Regions from separate parts of the Homo sapiens genome. Here all the other regions are linked to region 2. The links are contacts of gene promoters, found by promoter capture Hi-C in blood cells and fetal thymus (Javierre and others, 2016). All regions are on one chromosome and are shown on one strand. Each heading gives the region's core, a stretch centred on a gene start or on the middle of the fragment in contact. The rest is flanking DNA. Distances are from core to core; before and after follow the strand shown.

The links. The method cuts DNA at HindIII sites, captures the fragments that hold promoters and counts their contacts. A CHiCAGO score of 5 or more calls a contact.
Region 1: a fragment that was not itself captured here is called in contact with the fragment with the promoter of SLC2A10 in region 2 in 1 of 17 cell types (megakaryocytes); the score reaches 6.1 in megakaryocytes.
Region 3: a contact is called between a fragment that was not itself captured here and the fragment with the promoter of SLC2A10 in region 2, in 1 of 17 cell types (megakaryocytes). The highest score is 5.2, in megakaryocytes.

What each region holds. Positions count from the first base shown.
Region 1 is chr20:46,506,251-46,510,780 of GRCh38, reverse strand. All of the region lies in intron 2 of ZNF334 (zinc finger protein 334), which reads left to right. Among named protein-coding and RNA genes, the nearest start is that of ZNF334, 5.0 kb to the left of the region's middle. The HindIII fragment of the contact is 732 bases long and covers 2,915-3,646 here.
Region 2 is chr20:46,706,541-46,711,142 of GRCh38, reverse strand. SLC2A10 (solute carrier family 2 member 10) reads right to left here and starts at 1,494. Exons shown (of 5, transcript NM_030777.4): 1 at 1,403-1,494. The coding sequence starts at 1,406. The HindIII fragment of the contact is 5,872 bases long and covers 1-3,544 here.
Region 3 is chr20:46,569,197-46,573,518 of GRCh38, reverse strand. The region is part of intron 10 of SLC13A3 (solute carrier family 13 member 3); the gene reads left to right. Among named protein-coding and RNA genes, the nearest start is that of OCSTAMP, 21 kb to the right of the region's middle. The HindIII fragment of the contact is 3,568 bases long and covers 634-4,201 here.

The DNA of each region.
Region 1 (4,530 bases), core at 2,031-4,530, 200 kb after region 2:
CATCTTTTTTTTTTTTTTTTTTTGAAATGGGCTCTCACTCTATCACCCAGGCTGGAGTGCAGTGGCACGATCTCAGCTCACTGCAAACTCTGCCTCCCGGGTTCACACCATTCTCCTGCCTCAGCCTCCCAGGTTCACACCATTCTCCTGCCTCAGCCTCCCGAGTAGCTGGGACTACAGGCACCCGCCACCACGCCTGGCTAATTTTTTGTATTTTTTAGTAGAGACGGGGTTTCGCCATGTTAGCCAGGATGGTCTCAATCTCCTGACCTCGTGATCCTCCTGCCTCGGCCTCACTAAGTGCTGGGATTACAGGCGTGAGCCATCGCGCCCGGCCTGAAGTCCATCTTAATTCTCCTTTTCCTCACGTCCTACCATACCTGTTTGTCGAGCTTGCTAATGTTGTCACATAAACATTTCTTGAATTTGTCCTTTCACTTCCATCTCCTCCTCTCCTGCCTCAGTTTCTCGTGGGTTGTCATAATATTAGTAGCTTTCTCAGCAGTCTGCTTGGCCCCTTCCTCTTCCCACCTCAAGGCTGTTCTTCACACTGACCAATTCCTCCAAAATGCCAACGTGATCATGTCTTAATACAGAAATGACTTAAGAGGTTCCACGCCACTTGCAGAATACAAGTTCAGCATCCTTGGTATGACCTGTAAGGCTATGTATGTCATGACCGTTTCCTGCCTCTTCTCAGTTCCTACCACTCTGGACCTTTCATTCAACAACTGTATATTGATCAAACAATTGTGTGTGATACGCTATGCTAGATGGTCTACATTCAGCTTGAATGAAGGAGATACTGTCTCTGTCCTCATGGAGCTCATGTGCTAGTGAAAGAGAAAGATATTACACAAGCAATTCAAACTGTGCTGAGGTGGTTCTCAACTCTGCCAGACCCATATCTTTTTACAGAACATACTTTCTTAGGAGCTATATTGGGATGCAAACCTTCCATATTCTGCCATCCCCTTTATCTCTCTTAGTTAATGCCACCCACCCACACCAGGCTGCCTCCTGTTTTAGACTTGGATGAAACCACACACCATGAGGTGTGGTACCAGCTTCCTGAGGGGCCAGATGGTGGAGCCAGATGATGCAACCTGGAAGTGTGCGCAAGTTAACTCACCGTGGGTGAACCTTGAATGAAGGGAAATGGAAAATGAGAAGGAGGTGGGCAGATGAATTCCCCATCCTTTCTCTATTCTGTGCACTATTTCAAGGTTAGTTTCTCCTGGTGGTCCTCCCAGAGATGTCCCATGTGCTGACCCACGTGCTGACCCCATGCTCCTGCTGAGGAAACTTGCCCCTCTTTGGGGCTTGTAGTGAGTTGGTGGGCAGCATGCTAATGCCTCTCATATCTCATTGTTTACATCCTTTCTTTCCTCCCTTCCTTACTTCCCTCACCCTCACTACCCCGGCTTGGAGTTCCCAGATGGAATGATGCAGACCAAGTCCTTGCCTTAGGATCTGTTTTCTAGAAATCCCAACTAAAAGCCATCCTCCCTTTATCCTATTTTGGAGATCATAGATAATACAACTTACTTGTGTAATTTTTAAAAAAATCAATAGAACTCGAATATAGAGGAAAAATAAAAAAGTAATTAAAAATGATATGTATCTTAATATAGACTTGCCCAGATAAAACTATAGTAAAAGAAGAGGAGTCTGGTGTTTATACAGATTACTTTTAGGTTAAATTTCTATGAACGTGATAATTACAAGTTCTCACTGATATGGGACTGATGTGTCATGATTCAAATACTGTACATAGCATTGCCATTTGTGATATTTTTCAAGAGTGAAAATCCCTGAAGTTCCAGTTCAAATCAAATACAAATTGTGCTTGATGTATCCACTATTACATTGAAGAAAATTTAATATACATAAAAAATATATAAAAATACTATGTGTTCAAGTGCCAAATGGAATAAGGTTCTAGGCTCAGATCATTATAAACAGGATTTTTCGTTTATATGAATATTTAAGATTAGAAAGTTATACAGGACTTGGGACATTTCTTTCCTGTAGGAGAAGGTCCTGCATGTTGCAGTGTCTCTACCATCCTTCCTTCCCTCTCCTTCCACCAAATGCCAACAGCATCCCACAGAACCCTGACAGGCAAAAATGTCTCCGCAGATGTGCCACATGCCCCTGATGGAAGGGACCACCCACATTGAGCCCCTCTGAAGAACGATGGTGGTCTGCATTTAGTCTCCTGAACATGCCCCAAATTTTACACTCTTGCTTTTAACCGTGTTTCTACTGTTTGCTCCTTGACTTTCTACCCCTTTTCTGCCTACATTGTGAACATAGCCAGGAGCCATCTCGTCACAGGACCCATTCCTGTCCTCATATTCTTTGTCCACAGACTATGTGTTTACAGAGCAATGCTGGCCCTCTTCTTTGCATTACATGTAGGGTCTGGTCATTATCTGTCTACCTCACAAGTAAGACTATTAGCCTTTAAAGGTGTAGGCACATGTCCTCAGTAGCCATATCCCTGCTCATAGTAGTACTCATCATTTCTTTTTTTGGGTAATCTTGTTTTGTGTGAAATGGTGAACTCTCCTCTGCTCTGAATGGATCATCATTCTACTTACAGTATTGCTTGCAGAATGGACCTGAGTCACCGGGAGAATCGAGTTTCTTTTTCTTTTGTCATAAGCACCTTTCAGTTTCTCACAAAGTGAACACATTTCACTGTTCTTACTTTGGACTTTCTGCTATGAAGTGCACTGGGTCTGCCTGAGCAAGTACAGAACTTTCTAGTGAGGGCTCTTCCCTGGCACTCTTTCTCCCTGGCGTTTTGTTTCTAATATTTTTGCCAGTCATTCTTTCTAGTCATTAAGACCTTATATGTCTATTGTTGTGCCTATAATTATGAGATACTCTTTATCTTCAGGAAGCTTATAGGTCCTTCAGAGGAAGTAATTCATGGAAGAAATAAAATGGATAATGTAACTACTTCTGGTTTAAGAGACAGTTAAGTGGTGATAGCGGGAAAGGCCTCATTAAATTACCTAATAAAATTTGTCAGTAGAAAGATGTATAGCAGATCAAAGAAAAGAAAGACGGGTGACCTAGGATGGTCATGTGGGTGAGGTGAGACATACAGCAGGCCAAAGCCCAGGTGTCTGCAGAGGTGGAGGCAGCATGCCTATTTTTTACTGCTTTATTTTTAAATACGAAGAATGAGAAAAATCATACACAAAATACCTGTGTTTCCTTCACCTCGCTTCCCCTGATCTTTCAAAACTATATTATAGTGATCAGAACCAGGAAATTCACATGAATACAGTATTATTATCTATCGTATTCAAATTCTGCTTATTATTTTCCATAATATCCTTTTTCAGTTCAAGGATCCAACCTAGGAACCCAGGTTGTGTTAAATGTCCTGTCTCCTTAGCCTCTTGCAACCCACGATGGTCCTTCTTTGTCACTTACAACCTTGACACTTTGCTGGCTAGTTATTTTGCAGGGTTCATCCTAGCCTTTTCTTTATTTCCTTTCCCCTTCCCCTTCCCTTTCCCTTGTTTTTCCTTTGTTTTCTTTTCCTTGTCTTTCCTCCCTCCCTTCATTTCTCCTTTCTTTTCCTTTCCTCTTTCTTTTCTTTCTTTCCTTTTTACTTACTTAAGCTTATTTAACTTACTTAATTTTTGAAACTGGGTTTTGCTCTGTTACCCAGGCTGGAGTGCAGTGGTGCAATCATAGCTCACTAAAGTCTTGACCTCCTCAGCTCAAGCAATCCTCCTGCCTTAGCCTTCCAAGTAGCTGGGACTACAGGCATGTGCCACCACTCCTGGCAAAAAAAAAAAAATTTTTTTGAGAGATGGGGTCTCACTATGTTGCCTAGGCTGGTCTTGAACTCCTGAGTTCAAGCGATCCTCCCACCTCAGCCTCCCGAAGTGCTGTGATTACAGGCATGAGGCACCACGCCTGGCCTACCATAGTTCTAAGAATCAAAACCGTATAGAAAGATATTTTAGAGAAGTGTCACTCCTTCTCATCTCTTCTACTCTGTTCCCATCCGTCCATTCTTTCCGTCTGTCTCCACCTCTCCCCTGAATGTAACCAGTTTCATGAGTTTCTGGTGTATCCTTTCCATAATTTTTTTTCACATGTAGTGGTTACATGTGGGTTTTTTTGTTTTTTTGAGATGAGGTCTTGCACTGTCACCCAGGCTGCTGGAGTACAGTGGCACAATCTGAGCTCACTGCAACCTCTGACTCCCAGACTCAAGTGATCCTCTTGCCTCAGCCACCCGAGTAGCACATGCCACCATGCCTGGCTAATTTTTTTTTATTTTTTTGTAGAGATGGGGTTTTGCCGTGTTGCCCAGACTGATCTTGAGCTTCTGAGCTCCAGCGATCAGCCTACCTCAACCTCTCAGAGTGCTGGGATTATAGGTGTGCGCCACCACACCTGGCCATGTGTGTTTTCTTACATCTCCTTTCTTACATAAAAGGTAATATATTATAGATATTCTTTAATACTTTGCTTTTTTCACTTCATATCAGTTCA
Region 2 (4,602 bases), core at 245-2,744:
TCACGCCTGTAATCCCAAGCCGAGGCAGCCGGATCACGAGGTCAGGAGATCAAGACATCCTGGCCAACATGGTGAAACCCACTCTCTACTAAAAATACAAAAATTAGCTGGGCGTGGTGGTGTATGCCTGTAATCCCAGCTACTTGGGAGGCTGAGGCAGGAGAATTGCTTGAACCAGGGAGCTGGAGGTTGCAGTGAGCGGGATCACGCCACTGCACTCCAGCCTGGCGACAGAGTGATCATCTCAAAAAAAAGAAAAAAAAAAGAAAAGATAATTCAGGTCACGGCCCCGCTCCAGCTTAAAACCCTTCTCCAGCTTGCCGTGGCATTTGCAATAAAATCTGAACTTCTCACCACGGCTTACAAAGCCCTGCACACCTCTCTGCCATCCCTTTGACCTCAGTGCCCTGCCCGCTGTGCTCTGGCCATCCTGGCCTGGGCCACACAAACTCATTCCTGCCTGAGGGCCTTTGCACTGTTGCTGCCACCTGGAAGCTCTTTCTCCAGATCTCAGCAAGACCCGCTTCTGAGGAAGTTCTCAGCTCCAAAACGTCCTACTCCAGAAAACCCACCCTGACCACCTACCCAAGGAACCCACGCCCTTGGCCTTCACGCCACCCCATTTTATGGGTTCCACAACACCTTATCTCTCTCTGAAGTTATTCATAAACGTGTTTACCCAGCTGCTCAATCAGAATGCCACCTCCATGAGAGAGAGGTTTATTGTCTATTTTGTTCATTGCTGAAGCTCTAACCCCTATATCAATGTCTGGCACGTAGTAGGTGCTCACTCAAGAATCAACGACTGATCCTTCGAGGCTTCTGAATGCAGAGAGAAAAATAGAGCCCTAGTCCCGAGTGGCAACAAAGCCATTCCCCACGCGTCCCACCCCAATGCTGTGTTAGAATCTCCTTCTCTGTCCCCTCTCTGCAGAATCACGTCCAGAGGAGGGGGTTCGTCTGTTTTGTTCGCAGTTTCGTTCGCGACAGCGTCCCCAGGCCCACAACAGCGCCTGGGGCACAACCGCGCTCAGCGAATCGATGAACTGCTTTGCTTCTTTCGGAGCCTCCATTTCTTCATCTGCAGACCAGGAACAGCTGCACTTGCCTGGGGCTGTCGGATCAGGGCGCCCGGGAGAGTGCCTGGGCCCGAGTGGGCGCTGCAGCAAGTGAGGGGCCACTTTTCCGGGGCAGAAAGGAAGATGGAAGGAAGCGCGACCGAGCCCCGTCCCAGCCCCCGCCGCAGGCCTGCAGTCTCGGGCTGGCCACCCGAGAGGCGGTATCCGGCCGGGGCGGCCCTGGGGGAGCCAGGGGGCGCGCACTCTTAGGGGAGCGTGGGGGCGGTGTCTACACCCTGGGAAGGGGTCGGGCTTCCAGCAGGCAGCGCCCGATCGGGACTTACCCATGGCGAGCGGGACTCGGCGGCGTGCTGGGGGCGCTGAGGGGCCGGGCGCGCATCCCCCGCCGGAGTCCCCAACGCCGCTGCCGCCGGACAAACTTTCCGGCCCGCCCCCGCCTCTGTCCCTCCTGCCCTGCCCTCCCGCGCGCAGCGCCGCCAACGCCACGTCGGCCAGCCAGGCCCCGAGGCCTGGAGGCGGGACGGAGGGGAGCCCAGGACCGCCCCCGGCCGCCCCAGGCCTGGCAAGGACCCCCTCCCTCGCCCACTGTCCTCCCGGGGGCCCCCACCCGCCATCTCCCGGGTCCCCTTCGTTGGTAGTCCTCCCCTGGGGGGGACACACCAGCAAGCCATCCTCCCTGGTAGAAGACCCCACACGCACTGTCTTCCCCTGGCCTCTTTGCAGGGAAGAGGTGCCCCAATCACTGGTCCACACTTGTCTGGCCTCCCCAGCGTGCGCACACACACAACACACACAACACACACATCTACACCGAGTGAGACACTCGCGCATACCCACTGGAGCCGCTCACTCTCTCATGGATTCATCCCTCATTCACTCCACGCTTGGGTTTGGACACCACCACATACCAGGCACTACGCTAGGCTTGGGATGGGCCGAAGAACAAAACAGAACAGGTCTTTTGTTTACCTTCTAGGAGGGGAAGAGTTTACATTCTAGGAGGGGAAGACGAAAAAGAAGTAACTAAAGGATCCTGAGAAATATCAGCTAGTGATAAAGACTAGGCAGAAAGTTAAACTACGGTGGTGGGTTAGGCAGACACAGGTGGCTGCTTTAGCTTGCTGATCTGAGAAGAGGATATCTGAGCAGAGATCCGGCATTCCCCGCAGGGGGAACAGCAAAGGCAAAGGCCCCGGGGTGGGAAGGAGCTTATGGGGTACAAAAAACGCAGAAATGAAGCCAGAGTGTCTGGAGCAGAGGAGAAGACAGGGAGAGAGGAGGGAGATGGGAGCTAAGGGAGGGGCTTTGGTGGGCCAGGGTCAGGAATGTAGATTTCAACCCCATCAGCAGGACAGATAACTGGGGAGTTCTAACTGGTTAAGGGCCAGAATACTCAGCCTTCCCACCTGGGAGGCTGTTGCAAGGTGAGAAGTTGGTTTGGGCTCATGTCACTGTGGTGAGGTTGGAGAAAAGTAGGCAGATCACATATATATGCTCCGTAAGAACTTACAGACTGGAAGAGGGGCAGCTTGTGGCTGGGAAAGGAGATCCAGAGTTCTGTCTTGGCTGTGTGACATTTGAGGTGCTCAGCAGGCATCCACGTGGAAATAGGTGGGCAGTTGGCTATGAGCCTGGGATTCAGGAAAGGGGTAGGCTGGGGACACTGCCACTAATGCTCACTCAGGCAAAAATGCACGTACAAGCCCAGCACTCACATGGGCGCAGCCTTATCCAGCCTCTCAATACGTGTTCACAGATAGGCACCTTTGCATGTGCACCAGTGGCTGTACCCTCACCAGTCAAAGTCACAGCGACCCCTACCGTACAGGTGGATACACAGGCATTCTTCCATGCTGAAGGCACAAGCAGGTATCTCAGCAAAGATGACAGCATCCATAAGACCTCTGAACCAGGGGATCCTTGCACAGTTTCAAAAATAATAATAGCTGGGGCAGTTTGAAAACATGGCTCCAGAATTCGTTGTTCCTTCCCTTGAAATAAAAGTGGGCTTGTGACTGGTTTGATCAGTAGCCTGCAGAGTGACACTGTGTAACTTCTGAGGCTGGGTCACTGGAATACTGGTGCCTGGATCCCTGAGCCTTCATATAAAAAGTCTGATTACACTGAGACCCTCCTGGTATTCGTGGCCTAGTGGCATCCTCTTCTCTTCTAGATGTCACTAGAAGTATCACTTAGCAACGTCTAATGAATAGAAGACGGCAAATATGGTGGATGTCATTTTCGGATTAGGTTATAAATGATTTCTGTGTTGTTCAGTTTCGAGATCTCTCACTTGTTTGCTCTGATGAAGCAATTGAGCTGCCATGTTTTGAGCTTCCCAATGGAGAGGCCCACATGGAGCGAAGCTATTGAATCACATAGCTAATGCCTCCAGGCAATAACCAGTGAGGGACTAAAGCCCTTAAATCAACAGCCCCTAAGGAGCTAAATCTGGCCAACAAGCTTGTGGTGAGCTTGGACGTGAATCTTCCCTCAGCCTAGCCTGGAGGTGACTCTAGTCCTGGCTGACACCTTGATTTCAACCTTGCAAGATTCTGAGCTCTTGCTCAGAGCTAGAATTTAGCTATGCTAAATTCTTTATCCTAGAAGACATGAGATAATAAATGTTTGTTTCTTTAAGCCACTAAATTTGGGGAATAATTTGTTATACAGTGATAAATAACGAATACACATTTCATTATTGTTCATTATCTTGATTAGAAAAAGGAGATGGATCATCTCCAGGAGAAAGTAGAGATTAGGTTATATCTACATGGACACTAGGAGGCTTATCACCCTTGGCCTTGAATCTCTCCTCTGACCCTTGAACAGTTAACCATCAGAAGCTGAGAAATCGGTGAGGATGGTATCTAACTTTAATTTAATGTGATCTTAAGGGACTGAAAATGCCTTTGCAAAGATTAGAGAGCAAGAGAAATCTGGCATGGTTGACTCCATCTTGACTCTGACCTCACCGGCTACCTGTCTTTGCTTATTTCTGGGTATAGGCCAAGCCAACCACGAGAGGAGTTTAGTTTATATTTTAACTTTGAAGCAAGGATGATAATAATCACTCCCTAAAACTAACCCCCTCCTTGCTCAGGGACTGAAGCTACCTTTGTAAAATTAATGAAAGTCCATGAGGTTAGGATTATGGGATGGGCCTGAATTATGCTAAAATGCAGGTGTAGTTTTGGTAATTCCTTACTGCTCAGGAGTCATGTGGCCAGAGGTCACAAGATTTGTAATTTCCCCAATTGCTCCTGTAGATAACATCACTATTGTAGAACCTAAGATTCATCTTTTGAGATGTTTTTCATACTTTCACATCCTGGCAACCAACTGACCCCGCCTGGACTAAAGATTCATGAGTGGACTGGTCCTGTGGCTCCCATCTAGAGGCAGACTCAGTGCACGGGGCTGTTTTCCATATCTCGATGATTTCACCCCCCCAACCAATCAGCAGCACCCATTCCCTATCCCCCTGCTCACCAAAGTATTTATAAAAACCCTGGTTTCTGAA
Region 3 (4,322 bases), core at 1,168-3,667, 140 kb after region 2:
ACGGGCTTCATTAGGTTGTGCCCTTGGGGTCACTGTGGAAGGGAGAGGAAGGAAGCAGGAGAGTGCAGAGGGAGAAATGCAGCTGGAGGCAGTCCCAGCCCCACAGGAGCACTGGAGCTGAGATGACCTTTAGAGGCAGTCCGAGTAATCAGAGATAGCCAGGCCCTTGTATCCCAGCATCCATCTGTCTGGGGACACAAGCTGCCCCAGGTGCAGGTATGACCTCAAGTGAGGCCGCTTTTGGGGTCTGAGACAGCCGACTGCACTCCCTTAGCTGGGGCAACAAGATCTCCACTGATGGGGATCTGGGTGGCACATTCAGGCTCTCTACATAGCTGCTCATTTTTAAATAAAATATGTTTTACTTTATTAATTAAAAAACACATAAATAACGATACAGACTTCAAAGGGAACAAAGGAATAGATGAGCAAAAGTACTGTTATTTGTCTCCATTTTAGGAATCGTGAGACACAGAGAGGTTAAGTAACTGGTTCTGGGTAACACAGCTCATTAGTAGCAGAGGTAAGATTTGAACTCATGTCTATCTGACTTATGCTATTGCCTCCTGCTGGGGGTGTCTTAGGGAAGGCTTCCTGAAGGAAGTGGCATGTTATCCAGATCTTGAAGAAGCTTGCAGTACGATGGAACCAGACCATCTGGATTGGAATCACAGATTTCCCACTTCTTAGGTGTATGATCTTTGTCAAGTTACTAAACCTCTCTGGGCCTCAGTTTCCTCATCTGTAAAATTGGAATCACAACGGCACCCACCTGGTAAAGTTGCCATGATCATTAAGTGAGTCAATATATGCAGAGAAATGAGAACACAGCCCAGCACAGTTGGTTATTATGGTTAGATACTGAGGAAAAGGAAAATCAAAATCAAGAATCATGTGGAGGTTCGTGGCTTGAGCAACTTGGTGGAAATGGTGCCATTTACCTCAGTGATCTGAGCCCAGCCTGGCCTAGAGGAAGGAGGCTGGATGAGATGACCCTGATCCAGAGGTTTCCCTAAGCTCCAGAAGTGGTGTGGGGAGCACTGGCTCTCAGTGGAGGCTGGGCTGCGGGACGCTGGGCATGCTGAGAGGCCACCCTGGCTCTGAGCCCAGCCCTGGGCAGCTGGCCGGAGTTTCTCTTCAACAGGGGCTTTGTGTAGTAGCTGTTCCTTTCCCCAGCCTCTGCCGTACCATCCTCTCCCCAGGCAGCCGCAGCCTGGCCCAGGAGCGACCAGAATGCTTATGGCACATCCTGGTTCCTGGCCCCTGCCCCACACTCTCATCAGAACACAGCCTGGCAGCCTCCTGAGGATCGGAGGTCCCTGGATGCAATCCAGGGTGAGCCTGGGTGTGTGGGCTCCCAGCGCTCATTCTGAAGGGCAGGAAGTAGTGCTTACTCTGAGCCTCAGCAACTCACTTAAGCCCACTTAGGGTCCTCACTACAGTTTTCTCCTGCCACAAAACCGTATAGTCATGACTCTGCATAGACTTAAAGTCAAGTCCAAGGTTTCCCTTGGCCAACACAGAAAGCTGTATGGGACAATGTAGGTCTCAACATTGGCACCTACCTCTCTTCCCTCCTAACACCCCTCCAGTCTCCTTGGCCCCTTCCTCAGCCACATCAGACTCACATGCACCCCACAGCCTTTGCATCTTCCCTTTCTCTGTTGAATTTTCATCCTGAGAGCTCTGAGTCCTCACTCTTCAGGTCTCAGTCCCTCAGAAATGCCCTCCCAAGCCCCCACATCTAGAATAGCCTCCCACCCCAGTCCCTCTTCCTCTCATGACCCTGCCTATTCCTATATACCACATCTACCCCCCAAATGATCCTGTGGGCATGTTTATTGATTGTGTCTCTTACTAGAATGGAAGCTCCATGAGGGCAGGCAGAGACCATGTCTGTCTTACCCACCACTGTTCTAGGCACCTAGAAGACACCGGGTGCGTAATGGTGCTTAACACATCATTGTTGCTATGACCTACAAGATGGGCTGCTTTGAGAATTGCTAACATAATGTATGGAAAGTACCCAGAAGAGTGGTGATATACCCTGGGTGCTCAAACCAGGAGCCACACTCATCTTCACTATTATTATTACTGTTATTATTGCATTAATTCATTGAGGAAAGGTTGATCTTATTCTGTTGCCACAACAAACTTACTTACAAATATGTTGCGGTGATAGAGGTAAGGAGAAAATGTGTATTCTCCCCATTCCTCATTTTCTGCCAGAAGTCTGTCATCTTTATTATTGACATAGTTTGGCTGTGTCCCCACCCAAATCTCATCCTGAATTGTGTAGTTCCCATTATCCCCACATGTCATGGGACCTGGTGGGAAGTAATTTAATCGTGGGGGCGGTTACCCTTATGCTGTTCTTGTGACAATGAGTGAGTTCTCAAGAGATCTGATGATTTTTTGTAAGGGGCTTTTCCCCCTTCTGCTCGGCACTTCTTGCTGCCACCATGTGAAGAAGGACGTGTTTGCTTCCACTTCCACCATGATTGTAAGTTTCCTAAGGCCTCCCCAGCCATGCTGAATTGTGAGTCAATTAAGCCTCTTTCCTTTATAAATTACCCACACCCGGGTATGTTTTTATTAGCAGAGCGAGAATGGACTAATACAATTATTATTACCCTCATTTTATCGGACAGACAAGCCTAATGACATGACTAAGATCCAGATTCTGAATCTTACTAGGGCACGTCATATTATTTATTTGGGCAAATCACTGAGCTTTTTTATGCTTCAGTTTCTTCAACCATAAAATGGAGATAATTGTACAGATGGTTCCTGACTTCACAACGATTCGACATACGATTTTTCAACTTTGCAATGGTGAAAGAGTGATATGCATTCAATAGAAAGGGTACTTAGAATCTTGAATTTTGATCTTTTCCCAGGCTGTGATATGTGGTGGGACACTCTCTTGTAGATGCTGAGCAATTATAAGGGTAAACAACAGATATTCTACAGTGTATAGCATTGCCAGATGATTTTGCCCAAATGTAGGCTAATGTCAGTGTCCTGAGCGCATTTAAGGTAGGCTGGGCTAAGTTATGATGTGAACAGGTAGGTTAGGTGTATTACATGCATTTTCTACTTCAATATTCTCAATTCGTGATGGGCTTATTGAGACATAACTCCACTGTAAGTCAAGGAGCATCTGTAGTCTGTATTCCATGAGGTTGCTATGAAGATTAAGTAATATTTACAAATTACTTAGAAGAGTGCCCAGCACAGAGTAAGCACTATGTTGCTTTGTTAAATTAAATGATAGATCATATTCAGTGCTTACTAAGTACAGAGAGTGTTTCGTGTGCACTTATTTAATCCTTACTGCAATCGCTTAAAGAAATCAAGGAACAGAGATGTTAATTAATTTGCCCAAAGTCACACAGCTTGTAAATGGTGCAGTGGTTTGAATGTTTATACATGTACATAAAGCCTTGTCTTTTTTCCTTCCTTTAATCAAATTCGCTGGTCTCTTTACCTAGGAATTATTATACAAAGTTGTATGCACACAGCCGAGCCCGTTGTGTTTTACAAAGCCTTTTAAAAGATTTTCAAGGGTATTTTGGCCACAGGAGTTTTTGACTTCAAATATTGAACTTATGCCATAACAAACCCCCTTATAAGATGCTCCTCTACTGTATATCAAAGACACCAAGAAGAGAGGACCTGGTTGAAGTAAGAAAACAGGAGGAAGAGGGAAACATCACTGTACCAACTCCATCTCCCCACCTCCCATTTTTGCAAGGTGGCCTTGGGTACTTCTGGTCATCTTCAAGGCCACTAAGGAACATAATTTGACAACCACTGTGCTGGGTGATTTCTGAGTTCCATCACTTCAGGCATCTTGTGACTTCATGCTACTGGTTATGGCAGGCGCTAACCAAGCGCCCAGCCACTTTCCTAGGCCCTTTATAGATTCACTCCTTTTCTCCCAACAATAACCTTCTGGGACAGGCACTATCATTATCCCTCGTTTACAGATAAGGAAATTTTAGCACAGAGAGGTTAAGTGACTTGCCTAGGAAGTTAAGTGACAGCTAGAAAAGATTAAGCTGGGAAGCAAACTCAGTCTGACTCCAGAGCCCCTTCTCTTCACCTTCTGGCCATGCCACCTCTGACCTTGGCTGTTGCTGGTCCCTGGAGTCCCTGGGAATACTGTGGGGCTGTGTGTTTCCAAGGAAACAAAGCTTCCAATTCCTAAGAATATGGGAAAGAGTCTGGGGCATGGTGGCTCATGTCTGTAATCCCAGCACTTTGGGAGGCCTAGGCAGGAGGATCGCTTAAGCCCAGAGGTTCAAACCAGCCTGGGC